3 separate regions of the Homo sapiens genome follow, and regions 1 and 2 are each linked to region 3. Evidence: promoter capture Hi-C in human tissues and cell types (Jung and others, 2019). All regions are on one chromosome and are shown on one strand. The core of a region is centred on a gene start or on the middle of the fragment in contact, and the rest is flanking DNA. Distances in the headings are between cores, read along the strand shown. Region 1 overlaps PKDREJ (polycystin family receptor for egg jelly). Region 2 overlaps TTC38 (tetratricopeptide repeat domain 38). Region 3 holds the start of CELSR1 (cadherin EGF LAG seven-pass G-type receptor 1).

Region 1 (2,700 bases), core at 200-2,699, 280 kb before region 3:
CCCGTTGAAGGAAACGATGGAAGGAATCGACGTGTGTCTGCAGGGGCCTAGTGTGCTATGGCCATTTCAGTGCAGCTGAGGATGATGGACACCGAGGTGTGTATAAAGCAGCCACCCATCTCATTTGGTTGTCCCCCTTTTCTGGGACTCCACTTTGAGGGCAGCAGCTATGTGTGTATATGCCCCTCACACAGAAATCACTGCAAGGCTCAAAGAAGAAATCTCACATTTAATTCTGATAAAGCTTAAAGTGGCATCTACATAAATGAACATGCTTCTGAGTGAAAATAGTACAGCTACCAGCCCTTGTTTCTCTTAAGTGATAAACCACATTTTCCTTATTCCTGAATAGTCCAGCACGCTATTAATAACCAAATGCCCAAATCTTAGATGCATATGTTGCTATATTCAGCATATAGACATATTTCAATGTGAACCCATATGTACCTTTTTGTTGTTTAACAAAACATGTCTCTTGGTCAGAAAATGTTACTGAATTTTACTTTAACTACCAGTAGCTTTAAGAATAAATGAGAAGCACCACATCTGCATTCTCAAGCATGAAGCAAGTCCTGGAACTCCCCACGAGGCCCTAAGCCCAGGGGGAACAAGAGGAGGGGAGCCCTGGTCTACAAAGGGGCCTCCCAGTGAGGCCGAGGAGTTTGGGGCTCTGTCAGGAGCAACAGGCCATTAGCTTCCAGCATGGGTCAAGCGCAGAAACACCCAGACAATGCTCCACCCTGGCCAGGTCCCTCTCTCAAATCTGGTTCTCAAAACCAGTGGCTCTGCCTTCTCTAAACTGCAGGCACCAAAGAAACAGGGTTGCCCTTGTACGGGGAGTCACATAACTCCCCTCTAAAGGGAAATCAGTCCAGGAATCCCACACTGTGATCCTGCTGTCTCCCCAGATGCTACACTACACTCCCAACTTTTACACTCCCAAGAGCAGAGGACAAGATTGGGGATTCTTCCAAATGTAGGGGATGTGCCTTGTGAAGGACATGAGTAGAAAGCATGACTAGGCCACTGACACTCCCTAATCCCCTTAATCCCACAGACTCAGCAGTTGGGGGAACGCTTGCTTGTGACTCATGAAACCATCATTCATCAAACAACAAGGTAAACCATTTTCTTCCCGTTGATGTTTCTGGTCTTCAGCCCCAGATAACGGTGGCTGTTCTTCTCTGGCTGCCCATACAGCATGTCAATAAAGAACTCAGGCTCATCTTTGGCCTTAGATTGCGAGGTCAGAAAGCTGAACATGGTTCTCAGCTTACGGCACAAATAGGTCATTGCTTCCACTTCATCCGATGGCTCCTCATACACGGGCTGCTTCATTTCCTCATATGCAGACAGAATTACAGCCTGAAATAAGTTGATCAAGACGCAGATCATCACCAGCATGAAAGATGAGAGGAACAGGACCCCCAGAATCCTGTTATTGGAAAATTCAGTGTTCTGGAAAGCTGAGACACAATAGGAAAATACTGTCTGAGTGGAATGAATCAAGTTACTGTAGTTCCATTCATGCTGACCAAACACCAGGTAACCAAAAGCCATGTATACGAAGAAATACACGGACACAACAAATGCCATGTGGCAGATGCCAGGGAGGGCAGCCTGGATGGCCCTCTGAGCCAGGCGCACATCGTAGAAGAATCTGGAATACCTGAGGGTCTTCAAAATTGTCAGAAATAACAGGAAACCCAAAATTATCCTCATAATGTGATCTACCTGAGAAACTGCATGAAAGGGAATGAAGTCTTCTGGGTTCGACAAGTAAAACCGAATTATGCCAGTGGCCAGGAAATGTTTCCTGAGAAAGAGCACAATCAACACAGTAAATATGCACTTTAAAGCAAAGTTGAGCAAATTATACACACTTCTCACATAGGAGGCTCTTTCTTGCATAATGATACAACCCTCATCAACAACGTAGGCTAAGAAAAAAATGAGAATGGCCACATACAAGTAGATTTCTGCTGAAGCTTTTCTGTCAAAATCAGCAAGTGAAAAAGAGTGCAGAGATATGCTTGTGTTGACAACTCCTAACTGAGAGACTTCAAATATGACCGAAATGCTACAGAACAGATTTATATCTGGATTAAAAGTTGTTAATTCCAAAACCACAGCCCATGTCTTCTCATCCAGCCAATTGCTTTCTTGAAGTTCTTTGAGCCTCAGTGTGGAATTAAACCGCTGCTGTTCTGGAAAAAAATAGAGTGCATATCCTCCAGATCCATAGGTGTGTAGTAGTCCATAGGAATAATATAGCCATTGCGTTCCTTGAGGCTTATAAGTAAATCCATTGGTACTCTCATCTATAGCCTGCTTATCAACTTCATTCCAAAAGCCAGAATAGTTTTTTGTGTCTTCTGGGTCAATGCCATATTTGGGGTGACAATGAATTTCTCTTCTGATGCTGTTTTGCACAAACTTTTCGGCAGGTAGACACATTTTTTCACTAGATTTTGCTCTCACTTGCCTCATCAATGGAAGGCCAAGGATTTTAGACGAGCTTTCAGGAAGAAATGTTGGATTCAGGTCATTGTGTAACAAAGGCAACAGCACGCTGTTTAGCCATCTATAGATGTCTTCCAGCTTAGTCACAGTAGCAAGATCCATAGAGAACCGATCACGAATAAACTGGTTATAGTAAAAGCAGTCAGTGTGACGTAGTAAGACGATAAGGATCAACAG
Region 2 (2,700 bases), core at 64-2,563, 260 kb before region 3:
AGATTTATTTTAAGGAATTGGCTCATGTGAGTGTGAGGGCTGGCAAGTTCAAAATCTGTAGGGCAGGGCAGCAAGCTGGAAATCGCTGCAGGAGTCAGCATTAGTCTTACATCTGGAGGCAGTCTGCAGGCAGAATTTCTTCTTCTAGGGGCCTCCGTCTTTCTCTTAAGGCCTTTAACTGATTGGATGAGGCCCACCCACATGGAGGGTAATCTGCTTTACTCAAATCGCATCTAGAAATACCTTCACGAGACTGGGCACAGTGGCTTATGCCTGTAATCCCAGCTGTTTGGGAAGCTGAGGCGGTAGGATTGCTTGAGCCCAGGAGTTTGAGATAAGCTTGGTCAACATGGCAAGACTCTGTCTCTACAAAAAGAAAAAATAAATTAAAAAAGTTAGCCAGGCATGGTGGCATGTGCCTGTAGTTCCGGCTACTCAGGAGGCTGTGGCGGGAGGTTCCCTTGAGCCCAGGAGTTTGAGGCTGCAGTGAGCTGGCGATCATGCCACTGCACTCAGCCTGGGCAGCAGAGCAAGACTCTGTATCTAAAAGAATATATATATTAAAAATATATATATTAAAAAAATATATATAAAATACATATATTAAAAATATATATTAAATATATATTAAAATATATATTAAAAATTATATATTAAAATATATATATTAAATATATATATATATATAAACATATATATATATAAAAAATACTTTCACCGCAACACCTAGACTGGTGTTTCGCCAAACAGCTGAGCACCACGGGCCAGCCAAATTGACAGATAAAAATTAACCGTCATGAAACCTAATAGTACCTGACACACAGCAAACATACAATAAATAGCTTAAGTGTTGAGGATTAAATGACCCCAGTAAACAATACATATATATACATACACACACACACACACACACACACACACACACACACACATACATTTTAAAGATAACTCTGGAAGCCAGTGCTTAAGAACATTGCTTCAATGAATAACAAAAGCTAGAATCAGTCTTCTTGCAAAGTAATGAAGCTAACATCTTAGTCTCAAACAGAAGCCCTATTGCCCTATTTTGTTTTCACTTAACCCCGAGAAACCACAGGAAAGAAAACTTGTTTCATGTGTGACCACCCTAGATACTCGGGTGCGCAGTTGCAGATGAGATTGGAAGTGTGGGCGGGACGCAATGGCTCATGCCTGGAATCCCAGCACTTTGGGAGGCCGAGGCGGGTGGATCACCTGAGGTCAGGAGTTTGAGGCCAGCCTGGCCAACATGGTGAAACCCCGTCTCTACTAAAAATACCAAAATTAGCTGGGCGAGGTGGCATGTGCCTGTAATCCCAGCTACTCAGGAGACTGAGGAAGGAGAATTGCTTGAACTCAGGAGGCGGAGGTTGCAGTGAGCTGAGATTGTGCCACTGCACTCCAGCCTGGGCAACAGAGCGAGACTCTGTCTCCAAAAAAAAAAAAAAAAAAAAAAAAGAGAGAGATTGGAAGCGTGCAATTATTCAGCAGTGTCTTCTAGCCCATCCTGGGCTGGGCCTGGGCTGAGGCTGAGTTGGACAGACAGGTCCCAGCCTGTGGGAGCTCCAGGTCTGGGGAGGACCCGGCCATTCACTGAGTGCATTCCAGGCCGGGCAGGGGACTGTGTACAGCACTGCAGAAGTCAAGGAGGAGCTGTTGACAGCCCACAGGTCACGGAGGCTTCCCAGGGAGGTGCCCCTGGGTCATGCCTCTGGGTGGATGTCACCATGCAGACAGGAGCGGGAGGAGACCCTTGTTACTCTCAGTGGAGACCCGTGTTGATTCTTAGAAGGTGGGATGCTAATTGAGGAGCAGGGCCGCTCTCCGTGCTGGGCTTGGGGATGATTGTGCGGATGTAATGTTCACCTTGCCCCTCACCAGTCAGAAGCATGGAATTGCTGACAAGCACAGAGCTTGGCGTGGGGTTGGAGGTTGCATCAGTCTCCTGCGGTTGCTGTAGCGAAGGGCTGCAAACTGGGTGGTTTGGAGCAGCAGACAGGTACTCACAGCTTTGAGGGCCAAGAGTCCCATCTAAGGTGTCAGCAAGGGCAGTGCCCTCAGAGCCTCAGGGGTGGGTCCTTCCTGCCTCTTCCAATTTCTGGTGGTGCCCAGAGTTCCTTGAAGTCCCTTGGCTCGCAGCTGTATCACTCTGCCTTGGTCTTTACCTGCCGCCTTCCCTCGGCATCTGTGTCTTCACACGGCCCTCTTGTAAGGACACCAGTCATTGCGTTAGGGCCCACCCTAATCCCGTATGACCTCCTCTAAACTTATTACCTCTGCAAAGACCCTATTTCCAAAAAAGGTCACATTCCCAGTGCTGGCAGTTAGGACCTCAGTGTATCTTTGCGGGGACACAGTTCAACCTGCTACCCATCCATCATTTTGTATTCTGAGATCTTTTTTTCTGTTTTTAGCTATGTGAAAGGCATCTACTCTTTTGGCTTGATGGAAACCAACTTCTACGACCAGGCAGAAAAACTCGCCAAAGAGGTAAGTGGGTCCTTCCTAAGGTGCCTGACCCCTCAGGGAGTAGCCGTTGGCTGGACCAGGGCATATGAGGGGCACCATTCGTGTGTGACCCCGGCGAACCCCATCCCTGGTCTCACTTCCTCAGAGAGACTGGGGAGCTCATGTTAGTGTGAGCAGCTGCCGCCCGCCAGGGGCTGTCATTCACCTGTGGCC
Region 3 (2,700 bases), core at 201-2,700:
GAGCGCGGCGGCGTACTGTAGTCCACGGCTTTCACCCTGAGGACGTGCGTCTCCTTGGTCTCGCGGTCCAGTACGCTGTCCGTGCTCACGGCGCCCGTGGCAGAGTCGATTCGGAAGTAGCCCCGGGAGCGCTCGTCGAACAGCCCCTCCATGTAATAGCTCACGCGCTCCTCCTCGCCCTCGATGGTGTAGTGCGCGTGCAGCTGGAGGATGAGGGTGCCCGCCGGTTCGTTCTCAAACAACGCCACCTGGTAGTTGGGCATCGGAAACTTCAGGCTCCCTCTGCCGCTCGTGCCCCGCCGGGCCCGTCGCGCCGGCCCCGCCCGGGCTTCGGGCAAGTTCGGCGGCAGGGGCGGCGATGGGGATGGCGACGCGGAGGGCGTCCCCGCGGTGGCGGCCTCCAGCGCCAGTCCCACCCGGACGGCGCCAGCCGCGCGCCGCAGGGCGCACAGCAGACGCAGGCGGACCGAGCCGCCCGGCGGCAGGCAGATGGGACGGCCGGGACAGCGGGGCCTGGGGCGCGGCGGGCAGCGGCAGGCGGGTAAGGTGGTCGGAGCTGCGAGCGCCGAATGCTGCGCGGCCGCGCAGCCGCCGGGGACGGGGAAGCAGAGCGCCCCGCAGAGCCGGGCACCGGTTCCGCAGAGCCGGGCACGGGCTCCGCAGCCGGGAAGGTGCGTGCGCGCCCGCAGGCGGCGGCTCAGCGCCGTCGGGGCACTGCGGGCCACCAAGCGGACTTGCAGCGGCAGCGGGCGCCCCGCGCCCGAGACGCGCCGACGTCCTGCCAGCCGCCCATCGCGGCCCACGTCCAGCAGCTCCCGCGGCGCCCGGGGCGTGCAAGCGGCGCCCACCGCGTAGGTACAGCCGGGCCGGAGGGCGAAGGCGCGGGTCCCGCCGGGTACGCGCGGCTCCCAGGCGGCCGCTCGCAGCCCCATCGCCGGCAGGGCGGCGGCGGCGGCCAGGAGCAGCAGCACGGGCAGCACGGGCGGCGGCGGCGGCGCCATGGCCCGGAGCCCGAGCCCGAGCCGGGCGCCCGAACACAATCCATGCACCCGGCGCGCCTCCGCATCCACCCGGCGAGGCCGGGGAGCGGCTCCCGGGCGCCCGGCCCTCGGGGCGGTCCGCGTCCCGCCTCCCCGGGGGCCCTGGCGGGGACTGTGGGGACCACGCGCCCGGCCTCCCCCGCAGCTTCCACTTCGAGAGCACTTTGCGAAAGTTTGCGAAGTTGGTTTCAAGATGGCTCCTCCGCGCGTCCCGGGAGGGCGCCGCGCATCAACCTGCGGCGGCGGCGGCGGCTCCAGGCGGCTCCAGGTGGCTCCGGCGCGGGCTCGGCCGGACGGGCGTGGGAAGCGGGGCGGGCCCGGCGCGGGGCGGGGGCTGAGTTCCCGGAGCGGGCTGGGCAGCTCCGCGCCGCGCAGACCCCGGCGGCCGGCTGCTGCCTGGGCGGTGCGCTTGGCCCGCGCCCACTCCGCCCGCGCTCTCCCCGCCCCCGGCCCGGCCCCGCCCCGCCCCCGGCCCAGCGGCGTATTGTTCGGCCCCGGGGGGAGCCGGCTCGGAGGTGCGCGCCGAGAGGATCGCTATGGAGACGCGAGGGCGCGGCCGGGACGGGGACTGGGGCCCTACTCCCCGGAGGCCTCCCCACCCAGCCTCCCGGTGGGGCGGGGCCGAGGCAACAGGGCCGGGAAAGGTGGGGCTGGGGCCCCCGGTGGCCGCTACCCGTGGGGCGGTGGCTCCGCACCTCGGGCTCGGGGCCGCGGCTCAGAGCCTGGCTCCCCACCCCGGCAGAACAGATCCACGGAGACCGCCGCCAGGAGTGCCGCGCGGGTAGGACCCGGGGGCGGAGGACTGGGGCCGAGAGGCCGGGGAGCCCCCCCCCACCCATTAAGGACTGCGGAGGCTGTCGAGGAGGGTTACCCATTTTACAGCAAGACGCACGGAGGCTAAAATGCTTCACCCCGACTAAAACTCCCTGGACTTTGAAGCCCAATAGGCAGCTACCGGATCTGCGTCCCACTTGGTTTAAAGCGCAACTTTTAAATGAAAGAAGAAAACCCCGGTTGACATAAGGGATTTGGAGAGGACGGCGGAGGCGCGCTCATCTCCCGCGTGCGGCCCGACCCGAGCGTTCGCGGACGCATCGCGGAATCCCCGAGCGTCCGGCTCCTCCCGAAGCGGGTTGCGGGGAAGGCGGGGGGCTGCGGGTCCTGGAAGCTGCCTGGGGCAAGCAAGCACCCGCAGGGATTTAGAGCTGTGCCACAGCCCCTGCCCAGCCTCCTACGGAGGACAGCGGGGGGCGGGGGGCAGAGACCTTAGAGCTTTCAGAAAAGTGACACACACCCCCGCCTCCTGCGGGGAACCACGGGGGGCCGGGGGCAGCTTTAGGTTTGCGTGACGGGTACACCTGCCTCCGGATGGGGCACAGGGATAAAGGGGGTGGAGGCTTAGGACTTGGCGACCCCCCGCATGGGCGGGGCTTTGGGACTGTGCCACCAGCGGCTGGGAAGGGCGCGCACTCCCTTGGTGGCGCTCGGGGCGCCGGAGTCCAGTGCAGCCCTTAGGCCTCCCAGTGGTCGGGGACGGTAGGTGGGGGTCGCCTCTTCTCTCCTAGAAGGGCTTCTCCTGGGGCCGGTCGGAGCGGTGGGGGTGGGAGTAATGCGCAGTCACCCCTAGAACGGGTCTTTTTGGCAAGGGAGGGTCGGATCC

The links. The method cuts DNA at HindIII sites, captures the fragments that hold promoters and counts their contacts. A contact is called where the count stands out against the background at its distance.
Region 1: a fragment that was not itself captured here is called in contact with the fragment with the promoter of CELSR1 in region 3 in 1 of the 25 tissues and cell types used here (mesenchymal stem cells).
Region 2: a contact is called between a fragment that was not itself captured here and the fragment with the promoter of CELSR1 in region 3, in 3 of the 25 tissues and cell types used here (H1 embryonic stem cells, bladder and thymus).

Annotation. Positions count from the first base shown.
Region 1 is chr22:46,255,454-46,258,153 of GRCh38, forward strand. PKDREJ (polycystin family receptor for egg jelly) reads right to left here. Exons shown (of 1, transcript NM_006071.2): 1 at 210-2,700. The coding sequence ends at 1,108. Among named protein-coding and RNA genes, the nearest start is that of CDPF1, 6.5 kb to the left of the region's middle. The HindIII fragment of the contact is 5,387 bases long and covers 1-2,700 here.
Region 2 is chr22:46,276,154-46,278,853 of GRCh38, forward strand. It overlaps TTC38 (tetratricopeptide repeat domain 38), which reads left to right. Exons shown (of 14, transcript NM_017931.4): 6 at 2,433-2,508. Among named protein-coding and RNA genes, the nearest start is that of TTC38, 9.5 kb to the left of the region's middle. The HindIII fragment of the contact is 6,479 bases long and covers 1-2,700 here.
Region 3 is chr22:46,536,170-46,538,869 of GRCh38, forward strand. CELSR1 (cadherin EGF LAG seven-pass G-type receptor 1) reads right to left here and starts at 1,451. Exons shown (of 35, transcript NM_001378328.1): 1 at 1-1,451. The coding sequence starts at 1,001. The HindIII fragment of the contact is 25,460 bases long and covers 1-2,700 here.